Regions from separate parts of the Homo sapiens genome. Here all the other regions are linked to region 2. Evidence: promoter capture Hi-C in human tissues and cell types (Jung and others, 2019). All regions are on one chromosome and are shown on one strand. Each heading gives the region's core, a stretch centred on a gene start or on the middle of the fragment in contact. The rest is flanking DNA. Distances are from core to core; before and after follow the strand shown.

The links. Contacts are between HindIII fragments. The study calls those that stand out against the background at their distance.
Region 1: a fragment that was not itself captured here is called in contact with the fragment with the promoter of TMEM33 in region 2 in 1 of the 25 tissues and cell types used here (dorsolateral prefrontal cortex).
Region 3: a contact is called between a fragment that was not itself captured here and the fragment with the promoter of TMEM33 in region 2, in 1 of the 25 tissues and cell types used here (lymphoblastoid cells).

The regions. Positions count from the first base shown.
Region 1 is chr4:42,667,409-42,671,854 of GRCh38, forward strand. No RefSeq gene overlaps it. Among named protein-coding and RNA genes, the nearest start is that of ATP8A1-DT, 12 kb to the left of the region's middle. The HindIII fragment of the contact is 4,220 bases long and covers 1-3,797 here.
Region 2 is chr4:41,934,075-41,938,182 of GRCh38, forward strand. It overlaps TMEM33 (transmembrane protein 33), which reads left to right and starts at 1,355. Exons shown (of 7, transcript NM_018126.3): 1 at 1,355-1,455. The coding sequence starts at 1,411. LOC105374426 (a long non-coding RNA gene) reads right to left here and starts at 601. Exons shown (of 3, transcript NR_188374.1): 1 at 532-601. RefSeq lists enhancers at 1,195-1,374, 1,615-1,664, 1,675-1,744. The HindIII fragment of the contact is 16,795 bases long and covers 1-4,108 here.
Region 3 is chr4:42,513,408-42,517,605 of GRCh38, forward strand. The region is part of intron 22 of ATP8A1 (ATPase phospholipid transporting 8A1); the gene reads right to left. Among named protein-coding and RNA genes, the nearest start is that of SHISA3, 120 kb to the left of the region's middle. The HindIII fragment of the contact is 5,832 bases long and covers 1-4,198 here.

The sequences.
Region 1 (4,446 bases), core at 438-2,937, 730 kb after region 2:
AATACAAATTTTAGTTGCTTTTATTTATTTATTTAGAGTCTCATTCGGTTGTCCGGGCTGGAGTGCAGTGGTGTGAGCTTGGCTCACTGCAACCTCTGACTCCTTGGTTCAAGCGATTCTGGTGCCTCAGCCTCCTGAGTAGCTGGGATTACAGGCGTCTGCCACCATACCTGGCTAATTTTTGCATTTTTAGTAGGGACGGGGTTTCAACATTTGCCCAGACTTGTTCAAACTCCTGAGCTCAAGTGATTTGGCCTCCTCAGCCTTCCAAAGTGCTAGGATTTCAGGCCTGAGCCACCGTGCCCTACCTGCCGTTATTATTTTAATTTAGTACATCCAACATTTTTCCTACTCTGTAAGTGACATAAAATTAACGATTATAGTTACTAGAGGCATTTTCTTCAGTCATGCCTTTCTTGGTAAAGTCTAATAATGCAAGTTTATGTAATCTATCATTTGTATGACAAAAGGCATCAATGTTAGATATTTAATTGTGATGGAGGATTCTATTTACTGGTTTCAAGAAACTTGCTGTAAAAATGCTCATTAGTAATATTTAAAACAATGTGCCTCTTTGGGTCATTATGTAAATGAATAAATATAAAATCACCACTGTATATTGTACTGTTGGAAAGGTAGTCTACAAATGTATATATTGATTGTATCCCCAAATATTCAACTGCACATAATGGAAAATCCCAAAGGTTCAATTGCACATAATGGAAAATCCCAAAGTAGCAGTAATTTAAACAAGGTAGAGGTTCATTTGTCTCTCATATAAAAAAAGTCTGAAGATATCTCTACACTGCCTTCAGAGATCCGGAGACTTCTATTTGTACTCTGCAATGCTAACACATAGCTTCCATCCTCAAGGTCACCTCATAGTCCTAGCACACTGAGTCAGATTCTTTCAGCATCTACTTCTGAAGCCTCAGATAAAAGTTATGTTCAGCTCTTATTGGCTCATCACCTGGCCATGTGTAGCAGATAGGGAGGATGGGAAATTAGTTATTTATTCAACCAGTAATGTACCTAGATAAAAATTTGGGATTCTGATACTTAAGGGAAGGAGAGAATGGATTAGCAGGTAGGCAGCCAGCATTCTCTGCCAAACTTTTCAGTAAATCTCAGAAATCTTTCTCAAGGTTGCATTATGAAAATTCTGGAGCTTTCCATGGACGAAATAATACATTTTGTCCAAATTGTGTTTTTAAATGTAAAAAAAAACCAGAGTTTGCATCATCCTAGAAACAGGTTACATGAAACAGGGTTTTAAACTGCTGACACTTAGCAAAGAACTTGTTAAATGTGAACCGAAATAGTATTAAACGGAGTACAATAGAGAATAGAGGCTGAAATTAATTTTGTGAGGTAGTAACTTATTAAGGTGACTTTCTGGATAAAAATAAATGGAATCTTGGAGGTGAATAAGATACTAACAAAGCAATGGATGAAGTAAAACGAAAAGATTTCTTTTAGTTTTTCCTTTGTTTATACAAAAAAAAGGGAAAAGTAAAAAAATTATTGATTTTTGAAGAGACAAGTTCCATAATGGTATTTTGGGAACATCATCTCTTAGCTATGCTCAAACTACACCGTGAGGGAAAGCGCAGAAGGAGAGCCCGGTTAGGATGCGCCTGTGGCCATCTTGTCAATGGAAGTTTTCTGTACTTATGTGTAGTTTTGGGGTCCCAAAAGGATTATCCAAAGCAAACTTCATTTTAAAAATTTAATATTCAATTTATTAAATTTGTATGTAACAAACATAGCTCTTCTTTAAGCTTTGAAATTTAACTTAATTATTTTAGTATACTTAGACATCTAAGTAGATTTAACTTAATTATTTTATTGTACTTAGACATCTCACAAATTTTGAAAATTACTTTTGAAGCGGTGTTTAATTAATGTTTGATTCCATTTATAAACTTAAACCCCCTTAAACATTTTAAACTATACTGACAAAGTTGATACATTTCCTTTTCATATTTAAGTGCTTTAGTCATCTGAAAAAGCCTTCTCAGTACTGAAATAACTATCATAATACGATAAATTTAAATTATAGAAGATATGTCTTAGGCTTTTATAAACTCTCTAATACTGATTAATTTTGACATAGAATCTTTGTCAATTAGTCTCATCACTTTAATTTGGAATTACACAGATAATTTTAGTAACAGGTCAAATTCTCCTAAATATAGTGACTATTTCTAAACCTTACTAAAAATATTAGTACTATAAGTTTGATTTACTTAATCCTATATATGTATATGTAATTCTACAGGTTCACAGCTATTGATTCTCTTGGAAACAATTATGCTATCCAAACAATTTCAGGGTTAGCATGCTAAGCACTTTCGGAGGTTATACTTTTAGCTGGCTGAGGTTGAATGTTAACCAGAGATGTCATCTGAGACATTTGAGCTCTAGCATTACAGATATCCTTGAAAATTTTATGACATTTTTGGCTGTCAATGTGCCTGAGTCCTCCAGATTCAAGTCATCCATTACCTAATACTTTTCTCTACCACATTTGGTCCATTTGGTTGATTTCAACTAGTTTATTACTGTGTCACCCCACTCTAAACTATTTTCATATTTTTTCTTATTAGGACTGGCAGGTATAGTTCTTTTAATGACATTGATTTGGATTTTGTTTACCTCCCAGTGCTTCCTCTAACTGGTACCTTTCAGGTTAAGGGCTAAGCTTACAGCCTGAATGAGGGTGACAGCAACTGGGTGGAAACAAAGTGCAAAATGGAAAGGTATTAGGAAGGGAGAATAGACAGTAAACACTAAGGTTGGGGATGGATTCCAGGAAGAGGAGACCACGTTGAACAAAGACCCAGAGGAAAGGTGGAGCTTGGCAGCTCCAAATCCTCACTCCATATCTGCCCACTCCCAACATCCCCAGCAGTTATTATGGATGGAGGGTGATGTCCTCTCCTGCTGCATTCCTGTGGGAACACCCAACCTAAAATATTTATCTAGACTAAGGTATAGAAAATCTGTAATTTCAGAGCTTCCTTGGGTCTTTTGGTGGCCAGAATTTGCTAAGCAAGGACAGACAGCTCTGTTTCCTGAAGAGATAGATTTGTCTTACCCACCAATAAGCCTCTCCCTGTGTTTGGAAACTAGAGGATGAATATGAGAGTAGTAGTTGGAATGAACATTCGTAACAAAAAGTGCTGTCTCCTGGCTGGAAAAGGGAGTGTGTGAAGATCATTCAATTTTTATAGAACAATCTCCTCTTCAGTACGAACCTATTTGGTAGTTTCTGAAAAATCATTCCTTGTTCTTTTGCATGTGTGTGTCAAGAAAAGAGATATGCCAGAATGATACAATAATTATTTTCTAACTGAGCAGGAAGGATGGTGAGACATGTCACACCAATGGAAGGACCTCATCTCAGGCAGGTTCTTAATATGCCACCCTCATCCACTCTAGCCCCCTCCCTCTGTTTATTTCATTCTAGTCATAATTACCCAGTCTCTGAGCACTAGCTTATTGAGTTCAGTGTATTGCACTGGTCTCAAGATGGTAAGGGTTTTCTGGAGTGGGAAAGGGGTTGGCAGTGAGAAGCTGTGAGAACATTTGTGGGGAAAAGATGATTGAACAGTAGGACAGGGAAGCAAGTCTAGAGACTGGCATGTGCCCTCAAGGAGAGTCTCTGTGAACAGGGTGAACTATTTTTTGTGGTGACATCATATTTACCCTAAAGTTTTGCATTTCAATTTTAGAATTTTGACATAATTTCAGATTACAGAAAAGTTGCTAGGATCCAACAAAGAACATTTTTACTATACGGTATTTGCTTTATTCTTCTCTCTTTCTTTCTCTCTATTGTTTTTTCGGAACTGTTTGGGAGAAAGTTGCTGGCATGAATCCTGTTACTCCTAAATACTTCAAAGTGTGTTTTCCTAAGGCAAGCACATTCTCTTACATAACCACAACACACTGATTAAAATCAGGAATTTAATATTAAAACAATACTATTATCTCATTTACAGACCTTCTTCAGATTTTATCTTTTGTTCCAATAATGTTCTCTAGATCATGTGTTGCATTCAGTTGTCATGTCCTTTTAATCTCTTTCACTTGGAACAGTCTTCCTTTGAATTTCATGATATTGACTTTTTTGAATAGTACAGGCCATTTGTTTTGTACACTACCCCTCAGTATGGGGTTGTCTGATGTCACCTCGTGGCTTTGGCAGGAAGTCATGTTGCGTTGCTGTCAGTGCATCCTACAGGCACAGGATGTGAATACCCCTTTCCTGTTGATGTTAACTTTGACCACTTGGGTTAAGATGGGACTGACAGGTTTGTCGACTGTAAGGTTACTATTTATCCTTTGGTAATTAGTGTTATCTGGTAGGGAGATTAGTTTTACATTGTTAATCAGTCTTACATTGTAATTTCACTCTGTGTATTTGGAACGAAAATTTTG
Region 2 (4,108 bases), core at 105-2,604:
CTCGCTGACTTCCTAGAACTAAATTGAAGGAAAATCCTTACTGTCCACGCTTAAGTGAATAAAGGGCCAGATACTACTCCCTTTGCAAGCCCCAACCTGTTCTGCGCAGATTTGGGAAATTGAAAGTACCTCTGATTGGTTGCTTTTTGTAACCAATCAGACGTTTGCATAGAAGTGTAACTTTGTAACTTCTTCAGCCTCTGATTGGTTGCTTTGCGCAACCATTCAGACTGATTGCGGGCCACCACTTCATTTACATGAAGTGAACTCCAAGTGGCCAATGGGAAACCTCTAGGGGGTATTTGGACCCGAGAAGACTCTGTATCCAGGGCCCTTGAGCTGCTGTCTCACTCTCCCACACTCTGGAGTGTACTTTCATTTTCAACAAATCTCTGCTTTTGTTGCTTTATTCTTTCCTTGCTTTGTGCGTTTTGTCCAATTCTATGTTCAAAACGCCAAGAACTTGGACACCCTACACCAGTAACACTTTCAGCCAACTTTTTGTCGTTCAAGATCAAGGCCCGGACTTACCTTTTCCAGGAAACCTCCCCAGATCCCTTCTGATTTAGGTACCGTCCTCTGTGCTCCCTGTGATTAAATCAGCCTCTACACATATTACACAATCACTATGCTCTGATTTCCGTTTACTTGTTTCTCTTTTGCAATCTGTGTCATATTCCTCTTTTTATCCGCCGTGCCAAGTATGGAGCCTGTCACATAGCAGGCCTCATAAATACTTATTGAAAGAATTAATAATAGACGTAGAACCAACGGGCTTAGTAAGCCCCTGGAGAAAGGAATCAAAGATGTTTCTGAGGCCTCTATATCAGGAAGTGCGGAAATTTCATGGTTTGAGAATGGGCAGGAAAGATCATTTGTGAGCTGTATTTAATGCAAAAGTTGCTCCCCCATCCTGATTTCTTAGCTCACTGGGCCAATCGGCGGAAGGACAGGTGGGGCTCAAATTAGGAGAAAAAAACCACACTTCCCGTCATGCCTCTGGGCACCGCTCCCGTTTCCCCCTCTTTGTCACCGCCTCTTCCCCACGGAAATGAAAGGAGCACTTCCGGGTTCGGCAATAACCTGGAGCCGGCGGCGTAGGTTGGCTCTTTAGGGCTTCACCCCGAAGCTCCACCTTCGCTCCCGTCTTTCTGGAAACACCGCTTTGATCTCGGCGGTGCGGGACAGGTACCTCCCGGCTGCTGCGGGTGCCCTGGATCCAGTCGGCTGCACCAGGCGAGCGAGACCCTTCCCTGGTGGAGGCTCAGAGTTCCGGCAGGGTGCATCCGGCCTGTGTGTGGCGCGAGGCAGGGAAGCCGGTACCCGGGTCCTGGCCCCAGCGCTGACGTTTTCTCTCCCCTTTCTTCTCTCTTCGCGGTTGCGGCGTCGCAGACGCTAGTGTGAGCCCCCATGGCAGATACGACCCCGAACGGCCCCCAAGGGGCGGGCGCTGTGGTAAGTGCGAGGGCAGGGTAGTCTGGCTTGATTTGCAAGAGTTAGGAAGAAGCAGGAAGCGTTGCGAGTCCCGAGGCGTTCCAGAAGCTCAGTGCATTCAGGAATGGGATTAATGAGTTGGGGTGGGGAAGTTGGAGCGGGGAGAGGGGAGGTCCTGAGCGAAGATATGGAGGGAACTACAAGTTTGTTTCTGAAGCGACAATAGGCTGACCTGGAGCTGGTGGCCCCCACCTGTATGCCATGGAAATTGGGCCTTCTTTCCTCTTCTCCCACCTCGGTCTTTTGTTTACCGTAGGCCCCAAGGTTAAAGATGCCGCATGAGATTGTGCCATGACACACATGATCCATGACACACACCACGTGGAGCACACGAGTGCCGGCAAAGAACGTTTCTGCCTAGTTTATACAATCGTATATAGAAATTATGCAAAGGGAGGAGAGCGGTGGTCTTTTTCTTCTTCACTTTGTTCTTTATGAAGAGAAATATCATTATGCTTTTGTAATTTTTTTAAGATGCTGATCTGGAGCTAACAAGTTATTTGTGCCCGGAGCATTGCTGTCCTCTACTTTTTAATCCATAAGTAGTTAAGTATTATTCTGTGTGACCACAATGCAGTTACCACATTTGGGAAATATTACCTAATATAAAATCCATGTGCAAATTTCCATAATTGTCCTTTAAAGCTGCTTTCTCTTCATCTGGGATTCTGTCAAAAAGCATGCATCGATGGGCTGGCGCAGTGGCTCACTCCTGTAAGCCCAGAACTTTGGGAGTCCAAGGCGGGAGGATCGCTTGAGTTCAGGAGTTAGAGACCAGCCTTGGAAACATAGCGAGACCTCATCTCTACTAGAAATCAAAGAAATTAGGCGGGGCGTGGTGGCTCACGCCTGTAATCTCAGCACTTTGGGAGGCCAAGGCGGGTGGATCGCTTGCGCCCGAGAAGTTGAAGCTGCCGTGAGCCAAGATCGCGCCACTGCACTCCAGCCTGGGTGATAGAGCAAAACCTTCTCTCAAAACAAACAAACAAACAAACAAACATAAATTAGCCGGTCGTGGAGGTGCGCTCCTATAGTCCCAGCATAGTCCCAGCTACTCAGGAGGCTGAGGTGGGTTGTGCTTTTGCGCTCCAGCCTGGGGTGACAGAGCGAGACCCTATCTCAGAAAGCATGCATTCAATTTACTGGCCATATCTTGTTTACTGCCTTTTAATCTAGAACAGTTCTGCCCTCTCCTCCCCTTTTTTGTCTTTTAAGATACTGATAGTTTTCAAGAGTCCAGACATGTTTTGCAGCATATATAGGTACATCTAATATGTATATCTATATTATATATCAGGAAGCATTTTACATTGATTTATCCCATCATTGCAGAATTTGTTTGATTATTTGATTAAGGTGGTGTCCACCAGTTTCTCCATTGTAAAGATACCTTTTTTCCTTTCTAATTAAAAAGTGTTCTTTGGCATGATACTGTGACACTGTGTGAATATTGCTCCTCAACAATTTTTCACCCAAAGATCTAGTGATTTTTTTTTTTTTTTGCCTGATGGTTGGACAGTTTACTCTTAAAAAATGTATACCAATAGACTTTCTTAAACTTTTAAAATTGTATAATATACATAAGTGTGTACAAAATGAAACGCATAGCTCAATGATTTATTGCAGAATAAACAACCTGAACAAATAGATTTTAAGGAGAATGTTCTAAAACTAACTTTCAAGCTGTGGTGCCCAGTCATAATATTTGTTGAGAAACTGAGCACAGTAAGCTGGATTCATCCTTCACTTGATTACTGCTAATCATTTCAGTTTATTGGAGTCACAGTACGGTAAGTCTGGATTTAATGATAAATCAAAGTTGTATTTCATATTTCTGAAATTACCTACATGTGGGTTAAAAAGACATAAAATAAAACAGCCTGGAATTTTACAATGTACTTGGATTTTTCCCTCAAATTTTTTATATTTTTTTTTCAAAAGATAATGAAATTAAATTACATAGAGCAGTGTTTTTAGACTTCAGGTAGACCCATTAGTGAGTTGAGAAGTCAGTTTAGTGTAAACACCAGCTATTTTTAAAAAATTAAATAGAAAATGTCAAAATCCATTATATACAGTAGGGTAAATATTTGTGAAACTTTTGTTTATATATCCATGTATATGGATCTCAATGTTAAAATTACGAAGATCCTAGACAAAAAATGTAAAAGCCACTTTTGAATATAAGATACATTTTAATGAGAAAACACATTTTAAGATTCTGCTTTAGTGGTAATAGACATAAGTATTGGGGGGAAAGCAGCAAAGGAAAGATAGAATGGGAAAAAAATGGGGGAAGAAAATGGTATAGGAAAGTTTAATCTAGGACCACCGAAACTAGGGTAAGACTTGTGGGGGAACATGGAGGTGATAAAGAGAGTGGTGTAATCAGAGAGGCAGGTGGCCATTTAATACCTGTCAGCCACATTTTGAGCACCTAGAGTATGCCAGGCCCTTGTGCATGTAGGCAGATTACAAGGCGAATGAGTTTAGTTGTTACTACTATCATGGTTTTATATTTCTTCTTCAAAAGGTTTCTTTAATCCCAACTGGCTTTATGTGATGTTTTACTCAGCTCTGAGACCTACCTATTCGGATTTGAGATTTTTTGCTA
Region 3 (4,198 bases), core at 1,053-3,552, 580 kb after region 2:
GGAATGAGGTATCATCTTAGTCTCGATGGCTCAAAGAAAATCTATCCAACATGAGCTGACACTTGACTTTAAATACTAAACAATGAATTAAGGTTTAGCCAAGAAATGGGGAGAGGTGGGGAAGGATAAGGGAGGTGATTCCAAATGAGAAGAAATTACATGTACAAAGACAGATGTGTGAAAAGACACATAATGTTTGAGAAGCTGCCATTCAGTCAGTATGGAAATGATAGATGAAGTGACGTGTGGCAGTGAGGAAGATGAGGCTGGAAAAGCCAGCAGGGAATGGAAATGGAAAGGTCTGTGTGTTATGCTGACAATCCCAAAGGCAAGGGACACCTGGCGAATTTTAGAAGAGGAGAGACAGGATCAGATTTACATTTCAGAAAGGTCACTAGTAGCTGTATGGGGCTGGATTAGGACAAAAGAAGCCTGCATGACAAATTAAGAGGCTACTGCAGTCACCATTCTCTTGAGGTTTAAAATACGTTAACTCTGGAATTGGGATGTGCTGTGGGATTCTCAGAGGCATTCTACAACACTGGTTCTCAGAGGTTGCTGGGCTCCTCTGTGTTCTGCATTCCACTGGGTATCATCCTTGTTTTAAAGAGACCTAACACCTTCTTTCCTTTCCCTTTATTCTGGCCTACAGTACTAAGACTAAGAGCATTAAGTCCTTAAACCATTGGAATGGCTCATTTGCCTACTTCTGGAGAAATCATTCAACTGGTTAATTTTTCTAAGGCCAAGAAATAGATTTTAACTTGGTGCTTTTCAAACCATAGAAATCACATTTGAACTCACAAAGCCAAGGGCTTAGTTATAAGGCCAGAATTCACACACCCAGCTGAAAGGAATCAGGATGTGAGAGGTGATTGGGTGTAGCTTGCAAAAACAACGCATCCATCTTATCTGAGTGAGAAGACAGCAATACCCAGGGTGGAAAATCTACCACGAAGCATTCATAAGAAGGAACCTATCCTACCAGAAAGGAGGAGCATGTGATTAGAGATCTAAGGAAATCTTAAGTACTTTAAATAAGAAGATTCTAACGGCCAGTTGAGGGAAAATCATGAAAAACATATTTCCATCTTGTTTTCAAGGAAAATGGAATACAGTACATAGAGTACATAGAGGCTGCCTCACTAAGTAGCTGAGTCTCAAACAGGCTGATGAGCCCCACTTCTCACCCTGAGTGATCTAGTGATTATGCAACTGCACAATTGATTTCATTTTATTTTTCAAGTCTCCAATATTTTATACACATTCTTGCTTTCTTCAAAAGCAAGTTGGCAACGTAACTTACAGATTATTAGCATGGGATCTGGAATTAAGACAGAACAGGGATTTGCATCCCTGCTCTGCCAACCACTGGATATGGGTCCCTGAGCAAGTAACTTAACTTACCTAAGAATCAACTTTCACAACAGCAAGATAAACCTAATAACGTAGATTTAATAAGGATGTTCTGCAGATGAAATTACACCAGTTATCTCACAAACATTTTTGAGTATACTAGGAAAAAATGTTGAATACGTACTTATGACACAGTTATATTTTTGTAAAACATTGTTAAAATTAATAAATTATTCACATTATAAAATGCAAAAACTAAAAAAGATGAAATAAAACAAATAGAAGTTCTAATATTTTCTTGCTTACCCCAATGGATCACGTTGTGTCTCACTTTAGAGGCCCTCCAACTAAATAATCAGGGTAAAGAGTGAAAATTGCGGAGCTTAGTAAATGCTCAGAAAGTGGCAGGTCTAATTAAATGAGCTAACTATAAATGTTCTTAAGCAAATAGAACAGGAAACTACTGGAATTTTAAACCACGAAATCACCCATACATCATGTAAATTTTCATTTCATTTTTAGCACAAATGAAAGTGATATGTGCAGCTACTAAGAATAGATGTGGTAGTTTTATCTGAAGAAGCATTCCATTCTAATACAGAAGTTACTGTGAACTTGGCAGTCATGAATGCTCAAGAAAAGTCCTGTTTTCCATTAAGTTTTATATTTCTCTAGGAATCCTCTAAACCATTTGTTGCCATATGTTGCAAAGGGCACTAAATTGTTGTTTAGTCACACTGAGTGTAATGGTTGATCTATATTACGCCACATCAAGGGACTCTTTAACCATCCCCCAAATGTCAACCACGTTTTGGGGAGGGGTAAAGGAAATAATGTAAAAAAGGATCACTACCTCACTGTCCTATCTTAGTGCCTTATCTCAGTGCCCAGGGCACTAAAGCCTCTCTGGAATGACATTGTTTTAGTTTACAAGTTCACTACCTATCTCCCACCACTGAAACAAAAGGCAGAAATTCTTCTATCCTCTCCCTGCTGAGCCCTAGAGCCTAGAACAGAACCTGCCACGCAGCGGTGCTCAGATATTTGTTGCTGAATCTTTCCAACCCATGATTTTCTCACATTTATATATCAAGTAACTTTGAAGACAGGTTTTATAAATGAACGAATCTAAACTTCTAAAGAATGCCTTCTGTAAAATTATTGGCTTCTTTTCTAACATACCCCTAAATTAATCCTTAGTGATAGCACATTTGATACCAGTGCCTTCAATGCATGGAAAGCATGAACTAGATTTGTTAATAGGGGGCAGGCTTTCATTAAGCAAGTACTTATTAAGCTCCAACTTCTGAATTAATTATTTAAATGAATAATTCATTTATTCATCAAATATTTATTGAGTGGTTAACATAGGCTAGTCAGTCAAGCGCTGGAGACACAGTGATAAATATGATAAACACAGTCCCTGCTTTCGTGAAACTTCAATCTAGTGGATGACATACATCAATCACAAACTACAAAATGCACATAAAACACAACATTGCTATCTGATCAAAAAAGGCTTGACAGCAGAGTTACAGTGTTCTGAGTTTACTCTTAAGCTCAGAAATGATCCTCTAACCCATAACCTATTTTAGAAAAACTTGAACAGATAAAAGCATTGGATAAGTTTCCATTAAAAAAAAAAGTTTCCCAATCCACGCATCATAATAAGAGAAAAATAAAAATCTTATCACCAGGGAAATACTGCTTTAATCAGTGATGAATCTAGGCAGGTATTATAGCTTACGCTGTTTTCTGTAATTCTCAAGATAAATGATTTACTTTCAGAAACACAGAAATTATTAGTAGGTAATCTATGCAGTACTAAAGACATAATTGTATTTTTCTATTGAAGCAAATAAATATTAAACATTTTCAAAAAATTATGTATTCCACGAAGGCACGCCTTCATATTTCAAACAATGGTTTAATTATAAAATAAGGAAGAAAGACCAGAGACTTCTATACTATTAATTTTCAAAGGAATCTAGTAGCATAGTATGAATATGAGACAAAACATAATTTATGTGTCTTAGAAATAAGTTAGAATAAAAGTAAACAAATTTTAACAAAGAATAGAAGCTCAGACCAAAAAGAAGTGATATCACCCTGGCTCCTGATATATTAAAGTGACAGATCAAAGGTGAGAAATTTCAGAGAAACCCCTGCCAATGAAACAAGGAACTTCATAATTATTCTGTTATTTACAATTCTTCTTGAGGAAATACAAAATTTTAATTTAAAAACCTGATTTAGGCCAGGCACGGTGGCTCAGGCCTGTAATCCCAGCACTTTGGGAGGCCAAGGGGGGGTGGATCACGAGGTCAGGAGATCGAGACCATCCTGGCCAACATGGTGAAACCCCGTCTCTACTAAAAATACAAAAATTTGGCTGGGTGTGGTGGCGGGCGCCTGTAGTCCCAGCTATTCAGGAGGCTGAGGGAGGAGAATCGCTTGAACCCAGGAGGCGGAGGTTGCACTGAGCCGACACTGCACTTTAGCCTGGCAACAGAGTGAGACTCCGTCTCAAAAAAAAAAAAAAAAAACAAATTCTGATTTAAAAAATATAGGCTGACACTATAAGTGGTTTCCCAATCTAAAATTATGAGTCCTAATATGTTGACTACCTTTCAAAAGAACGAGGGTGAGATAAAACAGGTCAAGTTTGTTGTCTAAAGAATGAGACCACTGTAAATTCTCTCAAGTGGTGACAAAAAGAGACTAAGAGGTGTTACTGTCCACAATGCCCAATGTGAACCTGCAATTCTTCGCAAAGTGAGTCAAGACAACTGAAATATCCCATATGATAATCCCATCTGCATTCTAACCATGTGAGCTTTCT